Regions from separate parts of the Homo sapiens genome. Here region 2 is linked to region 1. Evidence: promoter capture Hi-C in 16 types of primary human blood cells and fetal thymus (Javierre and others, 2016). All regions are on one chromosome and are shown on one strand. The core of a region is centred on a gene start or on the middle of the fragment in contact, and the rest is flanking DNA. Distances in the headings are between cores, read along the strand shown. Region 1 holds the start of MRGPRG-AS1 (MRGPRG antisense RNA 1). Region 2 has its middle 5.9 kb from the start of NAP1L4.

Region 1 (4,626 bases), core at 772-3,271:
CGGGCAGGCGGGCACGGGACTTGGCGTGGCCAGAACACATTCATCCCGGGGAAGGAAGAAAAACCAGCAAAGGTGCGTGCCTCTGGGTTGGGGGACTACATGTAAGCTTTTCTTCTTTCCAGTTGTTAACCTTCTTCAAAGTTTCCATAAACGAGCAACGTTTTACTTTTCTAGTGGAAAAAGAACAACTTTATGCAAAGGCAGCTGCAGAATGTCCCACCCGGCACCAAGAGCACCCATTGAATGCCTTCATTTGGGCAAAAAAGAAAATTTCTGCAGGTCTTTATTTAAAAAAATACATAACTGGAGTGCTTTTCATCAAAAATGTCCCCATTTGGGTGGAAAAAAATTTTGGCGATTTCTCTTTTTAGTATTTTCCGTAGGGCTTGAATGTTTTAAAAATGACCAGAAAGTATTTTATTTCATGGTCAGAAAACACATCAAATGGTTTGCACTTTGGAAACTTGGATCCCCTTCCTTCCTTCCTTCCTTCCTCGCTTCCTTCCTCCCTCCCTCCTCCCCTCCCCTCCCCTTCTCTCTTCTCTTCTCTTCTCTTTCTTTCTTTCTTGCTTTCTTGCTTTCTTGCTTTCTTGCTTTCTTTCTTTCTTTTTCCTTCCTTTCTTCCTTCCTTTCTTTCTTTCTTTCTTTCTTTCTTTCTTTCTTTCTTTCTTTCTTTCTTTTTCCTTCCTTCCTTCTTTCCTTCTTTTCTTTTCTCTCTCTCTCTTTCTCTCTCTCTCTGTCTCTCTCTCTCTCTCTGTCTCTCTCTCTCTCTCTCCAAAGCAAACACTTGGGGCAAAAGCTCCAGATGATCCAGGGCTGAGGAGGGAGGGTGAGAGCAGAGGTGGGAGACGGGAGCAACCCGCAGAGAGCGGATGGCCCTGGGGACGCAGGAGAGGCCGGGTGGGGACCAGTGTGGGAGGGGATGGGAGGGGACCGAGGGGATGGAGGCTCCTGCATCCGCCGGCCCACGGGGCTGGGTCTGTTCTGTGCAGAAGCAGCACCACCTGGTGGCCTCTGCTGGTGACATCAGGCACCTGCCAGTCCTGGGCCTCAGAGAGGGGGACAGAGCCCTGGGTGTGGTCCCCGCGGGGTGGGCAGGACAATGATGGCTGAGCAGGGCGGGGAGTAAGGAGTAGTTCCACCTCAACTCTGTAGGGGGCGAATCAGAGCCTCAGCCAGCAGGTGGCATGGACGGCGCCCACCTAGCCCAGGAGTCCGGAAGCCTGGGTTCCAATCCGGCCACTGTGGGCTGGTGGCTGGCTCTGTTTTATTGTGCAGTTTTCTCCCCTGTGACTCAGGTGCAGCAGGGTGGGGAGGGGCCGGGTAAGGGGATCTGGGCTGGGCCTGGGGGCGTGGTGCCTGTCCTCACCCCTATTCAGGAGGCTTCTCCTTTCTCTCTCCTTGCCTGACCTCTCTCCAGCTCCATTTTCTGCCTCCCTCATCCTCAGCAGGCCTGGCTGGGGGGTGGTCAGGGCCAAGTCTCTCCAGCTGTGTCCAGCCCTTGGGTGCTCAGGGTAAGAGCTAGGTGGTGGGCGGGGCTCCTCCTGGTCCTGAAAGCATCTGGGTGTGGGGTGAGCGAGGGTCGGTGGGGGTGGGCACCTCCTGGCAGGCCCTGTGGGCGGGGCAAGCCCACTTATAGGAGACCCATGGGCAGGGACTGTCCCCTGGCACCCAGCTCGGCGCCCTCCCCCAGGGCCCTCCGCAGTACCGACCTCAGCGGCTCCCGCTTCCCGGGCTGTCGGCCCAACCCCGAGTAGATGAGGGGCTTGGAGCTGCTGTTGACGCAGGCCAGCAGCGTGGCCAGCGGGGAAAACACGGGCAGCAGGAAGTTCAGCAGGGGCTGCAGGCTCCAGTAGAAGACCGAGGGCAGGCCACAGAAGAAGAGCAGGAGCAGCGCGCCCAGGACGATGCCGTAGAGCCTGGGCCGCGGGCGAGTGGAGCAGCAGGTCACCCAGACAAAGAGGACCACGCCAGCCGTCCAGGCGACGCGGGCCAGCACCAGGAACCAGGTGACGCTGGCCACGTGGTAGCGCGGGCAGACCAGGGGGCACGCGCTGTTGCGCAGCAGGCCGCAGGCGTTGGCGGGCAGCGGCACGGCCGGCAGGGTCGGGGTCCACACCAGGGCGCAGAGGACGGCCGAGGCGTGTCTGGGCCGGCAGCCCTGGTAGCAGGCGGGGAAGAGGTCGGAGAGGCAGCGCTCCACGCTGAAGGCCGCCAGCAGCCAGAGCCCCACCGCGAACCACAGGAAGGTGAGCACGAAGTAGAGTGTGTCCTGGGCGCCCAGGGCAGCCTGAGCCACGGAGAAGCCCACACGGCAGGAGAGGAACAGGAAGTCGGCGGCGGCCAGGTGCAGCAGGTAGATGGAGAAGGGGCCCTTCTTGATGCGGAAGCCGAGGTTCCAGAGCACCAGCCCGTTACCTACCGGTCCCCCGAGGCCCACGATCAGCGTCAGGTAGAAGACCACACTGTCGAAGGTTCTCCAGAGGCCGAACAGCCCAAACATCCTGGCCGGCTCAGAGGGTGCTGGCGAGGGACCTGCAAGATGGAGACAGACATGGTCCTCAGGAGTCTTTTGTGCCCCCGCTGGGGGCACAGGGAGTGGCATCCATGGCCCTGCAGGTGCCCTCTGGGTGCAGCCCCTGGACCACCCTTCCCAGCGGCGGGACCTCAGCCGGGTCTCAGCCCTCTGCACCTCAGGTCAGGCGTGCCTAATGCCTCCCCATACCTGAGGGCAGGCCCTGGGCTCCTGGCAGGGTGGACTAACTTGCTGAAAAGATGTCCATGTCCCTCATGGATGTGGTGAGGGTGATGCTGCACCCTCCACCGTGTGCCAGACAAGGGTCTGCAGACAGAGGGAACGTGCATGGGGAACCCACGTGTGGCGCCTTCCTCTTCCCCCAGAGGTGGGAGCTTCTCCACGGTGGACCCTCATGGGGCTCCCACCTGGTGAGCCTAGACCAGCCTGCTGGCGAAGTCCCCTCCCCGGAGGGTCTCTGGAGGTGTCCAGGGAGGTGCCCAAAGGCAGAGGCTGCAGGTGGTCTGAGGAGGAGGGAGGAGGGAAGATGCGGTGTGAGGAGCTGGAGGGAGCCCCCAGCCTTCCCTGTGCACTCCTGGCCTAAGCAGAAGCTGAATCCCGGGGCTCATGCTGCCGGCGGTGCACTCAGGAGGCTGCTCTGAAGCCTCAAGCCAAGAGAGGGGCTTTGGTGATGGTGGCAGGGCCAGGGGGCCTCTCCAGGAGCCACTAACACAAGGGGAGGGGCAGATACAAGTGGCCACTTGCAAGGAGCGAGGCTGAGAGTCCCGAGGATGTTCTCAGAGTGCGAGAGAGATTGGCCACCGGAAGCTGCGCTGAAAGGCAGAGGGTCTCAGAGCAGCCCTTCCCTTTCCAGCCATCCCTCCTCCCCCAGGATCCACATGGGTCATGTTCTTAGTCCTGGGAGATGCATCAGGACCAGGCTCAGCAGTGGCGGCGTCAGCGGTGAGAGACACGGGAGAGAGAAGAGAGATAGAGAGAGACAGAGAGACAGGGAGAGACAGAGATGTAGACAGACATTGAGAGACAGAGACAGAGAGACAGAGACAGAGAGCTACAGAGAGATAGAGACAGAGATAGACACAGAGAAACAGAGATGAGACAGACTGTGTGTGTGTGAGAGAGAGAGAGACAGACAGAGAGAGAGCCATCAAGCCGCCAACACACACCTGGAGCCCTCCCTGTCACATCTTTGCCTGGGCTGTGTCCCCTGCCCAGACAGCCCTGAATACCTCTCCCCTGACCCAGGTCCCACCCTACTTCAAGGTTTTGCTCCTTCTCAGGGGCCTGCAACCCCCTGCAGCTTCCTCCGACCCCCGTGAGCCCCCTGCCTCATGGCTGAGCATCCCCCGGCACCTTCTTTGTGCTTGTCATTGCCCCTAGTCAGGGGTTGGGGAGTGCGGCTCGGGCCTTGGCTCCTGTGCCTTGCCATGGCCGGGCACACGGTGATGGTGGCCTGTCCTCCGAGCCCAACCAGGGGCAGTGGGAGACCTCGGCCGGGCCCTGGCTTGTGGTGGTGAGTGTGGTGACTGGGGGTGGGGTGGTGGGGTGGAAACACACCTCCCCTCTCTGAGCCTCAATTTCCTCAAGGAGGAAACCAGACTCTCCTGGCTGTGCTCTGGCTCTGGCTCAGAGTCTGAGGCTGGGGGTGAGGCCGGCGCTCAGGCCCCCCATGCTGGGGTGAGGTTAGGCTCTATTCCTGGAGAGAGAGTTACAGAGAGGAGTGGCCCGGCGGCAGGAGGGGGCATCTTCATTGTTATCAGAACAGGTTCACCTGCTCGGCCCGCTCCAGCGACGCCCTTGAGCTCTGGTGTCCACACATTTCAACTTAGCCGGAATTCCCACCCGCATCCCGCCCTGCCTTCCCTTCCCAAAGGAAATCCAAACATCCCAGCCAGCCCCATCCACCGGGGAGCCAGGCTGAGAGCAGGGGCCACTGCGGAGGGCAGGGGAGGGTGCCAGTGCCTCACCTGGGGGGTGCAGTGGGGGCAGGCGGAGCCTTCTCACCTGTGACGAGGCTGCCCCCAGCTCTCTCAGGCCCTTCTGTGCTCAGACCAGCGCTCATTGCCTGGAGGCTCCTCCCGGTCCCTAAA
Region 2 (4,626 bases), core at 1,257-3,756, 220 kb before region 1:
AACAGAGCTTTCATGTACAGAAAAGAAACACTTTCCACAGGCAAACTAATATTATACAAGAAAAGTGTCCACCCCACGTTGTTCCAGAAGGATCTGCTGCAGCCTGACAGCAAGAGATTGCAGGGTAGGGAGGTGCTGGGGTCCTCTTGGGGGCCAAGCCAATGGCCTGGGCCCAGCCAGCCTATTGTCACTGCAGGCCCTCGGACCCAGCCTGGGGAGACTGGAGGAAGTCAGGGAAGGGCAGAGAGAAGGCGCACCGGGCAGTGGGCCCTCAGAACGGGGAAACTCCAGGCAGAAAAGCGGCCCAGAATCACTCTGAATTGGGGGGCGTGAAACAGGGGCCACAGCCTGGCCCTACTGCAGTCCAGGTGGAGCCAGGCCTTCACCAGCTGTGGGGACCAGGCGTGCCCCTGGCAATCTGGATACGTTTTTGTGCAGCCACCACTGGAAATGGGGCACACGCCACTCCTTCTTGCCTCCTTGGATGGCACCGCGGCTTTGGGCCAACCTCCGCTCACCCCAGTGGTGGCAGCTAAAGACAAGGGTATTTCCTCATGGCCCAGTTGTCAGGATATTTGATACATGGTTTCCAGCACAGGCCAGTAAAGAGGATACACTGTGGAAGGGATTGCTGCTGCTGCAGTGCCGGCTGCACTTCATCAGTTTCCTTGGCTAAAGGATACTGAGTTACAGGTTTCAGGCTACTTTGTATCTCATTAAAGACACCTCTCCATGCAGCCGCCATTATCACACTAACAAAATTAGCAAAAATCTTGACTGTCATCCAATACCTGGTCATTCAAATTTCTTGAAATTTTTTTTTTTTTTTTTTTTTTGAGACGGAGTTTCGCTCTTGTTGCCCAGGCTGGAGTGCAATGGCGAGATCTCGGCTCACCGCAACCTCCACCTCCCGGGTTCGAGCGATTCTCCCGCCTCAGCCTCCGGAGTAGCTGGCATGTGCCACCATGCCCAACTAATTTTTTTGTATTTTTAGTAGAGACAGGGTTTCTCCATGTTGGTCAAGCTAGTCTTGAACTCTCCACCTCAGGTGATCCGCCTGCCTCAGCCTCCCAAAGTGCTGGGATTACAGGCATGAGCCACTGTGCCCGACCCCCTTTGAAATGTCTTTACAGCAGGTTTGTTCAAATCCTTCAAAGATTATCCCTCAAACCTGGTGGTTTTGTTTCTCGAGTCTCTCCCAGTCCTTCTCTTCTGCCCTATTCTGCTCCCTTTGACGCAGACGTATTGAAGATGCCAGCCGGGCATCTGGCAGAATGCCCCACCTTCTGCACAAATGTGGTGGCTGCTTCATGGCCTCACCTGCATTCTCCCTCTGTTCCCAGTATTTCCTGCAGACAGGAAGTGAGCTGGACAGCCTTGCTCCTGAGGGGGCTGTAGCCCGGCAGCACAGGCCACAGCTGGGAGACTGCAGGAATGCAGAATCTTGGGCTCCTCCTAGACCTGAACTGAAATTTGTGTTAACAAGCAACCCTGGGCAGTTTATACGCACATTCAAGGTTAAGGAGCCCTAGCCTAAAAGCTGCATTCAATACTGACTTATACTTTTAGAGGAAATCCTTCTTTTTGTTGGGGGGCTGACAGCCAGGGCCCAACATCAGAAAGTAACACGTATCCCCTCCTGGAAACCTACAAGTTACTCACAAGGTGACACTTTGGCATCAAATTATCCAGCACCTACCAGCTTTCATCCAGGGGTCTCAGCATCCGCGGTCAGCCCCTGCCTGAATCAATGACTTCATTCGGGGTTGCAGAATGGAGATGTCTGATCCTGGTGCTTCTTCCCTTAGCTGGCATCTTTGGGGGAAAGAACAACTTTCCCCTTTCAGCTAGGGCCATTTGGTGGCCCTGAAATATACTTCCCATGCAAGGTAAAATACTTGCTTCTGTCACTAATGAGTAACTCTACAGAAAGGAGCTGACACAGGCCACCTCCAGTAACGACAATATGTTTTAGCTTTCTCTAGTTTTGAGAATAAATACAGATGCCTGGAGTTTTTTTTTTGTTTGTTTGTTTTTGTTTTTTGTTTTGAGACAGAGTCTTGCTCTGCCATCCAGACTGGAGTGCAGTGGTATGATCGCAGCTCACTTGCAGCCTCCACCTCCCATGCTCAGGCAATCCTCCAACCTCAGCCTCCTGAGTAGCTGGGATCACAAGTGCGCCACTACACCGGCTAATTTTTTTGACTTTTAGTAGAGACAGGGTCTCGCTATGTTGCCCTGGCTGGAATCATTCTTTTCAATGCTCAAATTGTCCCAAACTTAGCCAGTAGGAGCTCCTGAAGCCTTAAAGTAATTATAGGTTTCCAGAAAACTGCACAGTTTGTTTCCTGATGGTCACACCTTGCCTGGCCAGAGTTCAAGATCAACACAGGAGACTGACATTGGTACAATGTGTGTGACTCTACGTTGTGCTATCACATATGCAGATTTGTGTGATCACCATGGAAACAAGAACACAGAAGTGCCCTCCCCACCAACCCCACCTCCTACTGTCCCTGTGCAGTCACTCCCCTCCACCTGCCCCCGCCCCCCCACCATCTTTAACCCCAGCTACCACCATCTGTTCTCTATTCCTACTTGAGAATGTTATCTACGTGGAATCACATGGCATGCAACCTTTCAGGGGTGGCTTTTCCAAACCCAGCAGAATGCCCCTGACACATACCACCCAGCTGCTATGTGTCACTACCTTGTCCAGTGTCCTCCTGACCTGACTTCTTGGTGTTCGAAAGCTCCCCTTTTGGGGCACAAGAGTGCCTGGGCTCAGCTACTCCTGCTGCTGCAGACCTGGAACTGGCCATTTCTCCAGGGGGTGGGATGGGGTTTAGAGCCCCAGATCGGGGCTGGGGCTGCTCAGTGCCACCAGGGCTGCCTTGCTTCTCCACCCTTCCCATCTACACAGTCAGGAAACAATCTACTTTTTAAAATCACAAGTTACTTCATATTGTTTTTTCTAATTCGTATTTAATAGTAAAGTGATTTTCCTTGACTTCTTTGATATTTTATCGTCTTACATTAAAAACTTGATTGCTAGGCTGGGCGCAGTGGCTCACACCTGTAATCCCAGCACTTTGGGAGGCTGAGGCGGGCGGATCACTTGAGGTCAGGAGTTCAAGACCAGCCTGGCCAATATGGTGAAACCCCATCTCTACTAAAAATACAAAAATTAGCTGGGCATGGTGGCGCGTGTCTGTGATCCCAACTACTTGGGAGGCTGAGGCAGAAGAATAGCTTGAACCCGGGAGGCGGAGGTTGCAGTGAGCTAAGATTGCTTCCCTGCACTCCAGCCTGGGTGTCAGTGATCTTATTTGTGTTGGCATACAGGGTTTGAAAATTATAATGCCAATGTTATTACTAACAACAAAACTATTGAATTGACTTTTCTGTACTTTCTTTGACCTTAGAAGATACCCCATTAAAGATGTGTAGCAAAAAATGGCCAATTCTCAGAAAGTTGAAGTTCTTTTCTTGAGGTTGCCAATTTGATTTATGTTTTTGTGCCAGATGGTACTTTCTGAAATAGCTGCAGTAGTATTTCCCATCCCTTCTGGAACCCAGTAATGCCCACCACAGGGTAGTGTCTATGCCTCCCCCTCCGCACGAACGTGGGTGGGCCTTGTGACGGCCTCCGCTAGGGAGGACGGTGGAAGTCAGGACATGACCTCCGAGGTTAGATCCTAAAAGGCCATATAGCTCCTGTCTCTCTCTCTCTCAGGACTCGCACCTTTGGAGCTATAGGCTGTTGCAACAGAAATCAGCCACCGTGAAGCCGCCAAGCTGGAGAGATCACACACAGGTCTCACAGAGGTAAAAGGTGCCCAAGCAGCCCTAGTGTGGGACCCAGGCACAAACTTAGAGATGACCCCATCTGCCTGCAACTGAAAACCAATCAACTGAGCCCAGTCAATCCAGAGCCATGAGTTATTAACATGATCATTGTTGTTTTCAGCCATGAAGTTTTGGGGTGATTTGTTAAGTGGCAACAGATAACTGGAACATGTTTGTTTTACTTTGTTTGGGGGACTTTTCTTTCTTGCTGGTTTAAATTTTTTTATATATAAAATACTGACAAGGTTCAAAGTCAGGCCTATCAATACCCAGAGACTGTCCTCATTGATTTATAACCTTAGTGCTCCCTGCATAATTGGGTGGGTGCTCTCAAGCTGTGCCAAGCACCCTGCTGATGCACAGACAGGCTGGTTCCAGCCTTTTGCTGTGTCACACACTACTGCAGTAAACAGCATGCGCATGCGGAGGGCAAGGACAAAGAATTGGCGCACCCACAACCCAACACTGCCACACTCCCCATGCTGAGGCTGCTGCCACCATCCACATGCACTGGATGGAGTGTCCCCCCCTGGATGTCCACAGCACCAATGACTGTCTTTTGTCCCGATGGATATGGCCTGGCACCAGCTTCCGCAGGCATGAAGCAGGCTGTGGTTTCTGCTTACGCCCTCCTCAGCCAAGGATGGGTAAGCACCTTCGCGTCTGGGTGGTGATTCTTAGTCCAGGTGAACCAGGTGTGGAGGCAGGGTGGCAAGGACAACACTGGGCACTGGGGACAAGAAGGCCCCTGCTGTGTTGAGACCACCCCCACAACTC

Evidence for each region. Contacts are between HindIII fragments. The CHiCAGO score rates a contact against its expected background, and 5 or more counts as called.
Region 2: a contact is called between a fragment that was not itself captured here and the fragment with the promoter of MRGPRG-AS1 in region 1, in 3 of 17 cell types (M2 macrophages, M1 macrophages and erythroblasts). The highest score is 7.6, in M2 macrophages.

The regions. Positions count from the first base shown.
Region 1 is chr11:3,216,311-3,220,936 of GRCh38, forward strand. MRGPRG-AS1 (MRGPRG antisense RNA 1) reads left to right here and starts at 2,022. Exons shown (of 2, transcript NR_027138.1): 1 at 2,022-2,249. MRGPRG (MAS related GPR family member G) reads right to left here and starts at 2,503. Exons shown (of 1, transcript NM_001164377.1): 1 at 1,634-2,503. The coding sequence starts at 2,503. The coding sequence ends at 1,634. RefSeq lists an enhancer at 3,599-4,561. The HindIII fragment of the contact is 7,931 bases long and covers 105-4,626 here.
Region 2 is chr11:2,995,889-3,000,514 of GRCh38, forward strand. No RefSeq gene overlaps it. Among named protein-coding and RNA genes, the nearest start is that of NAP1L4, 5.9 kb to the left of the region's middle. The HindIII fragment of the contact is 5,453 bases long and covers 1-4,626 here.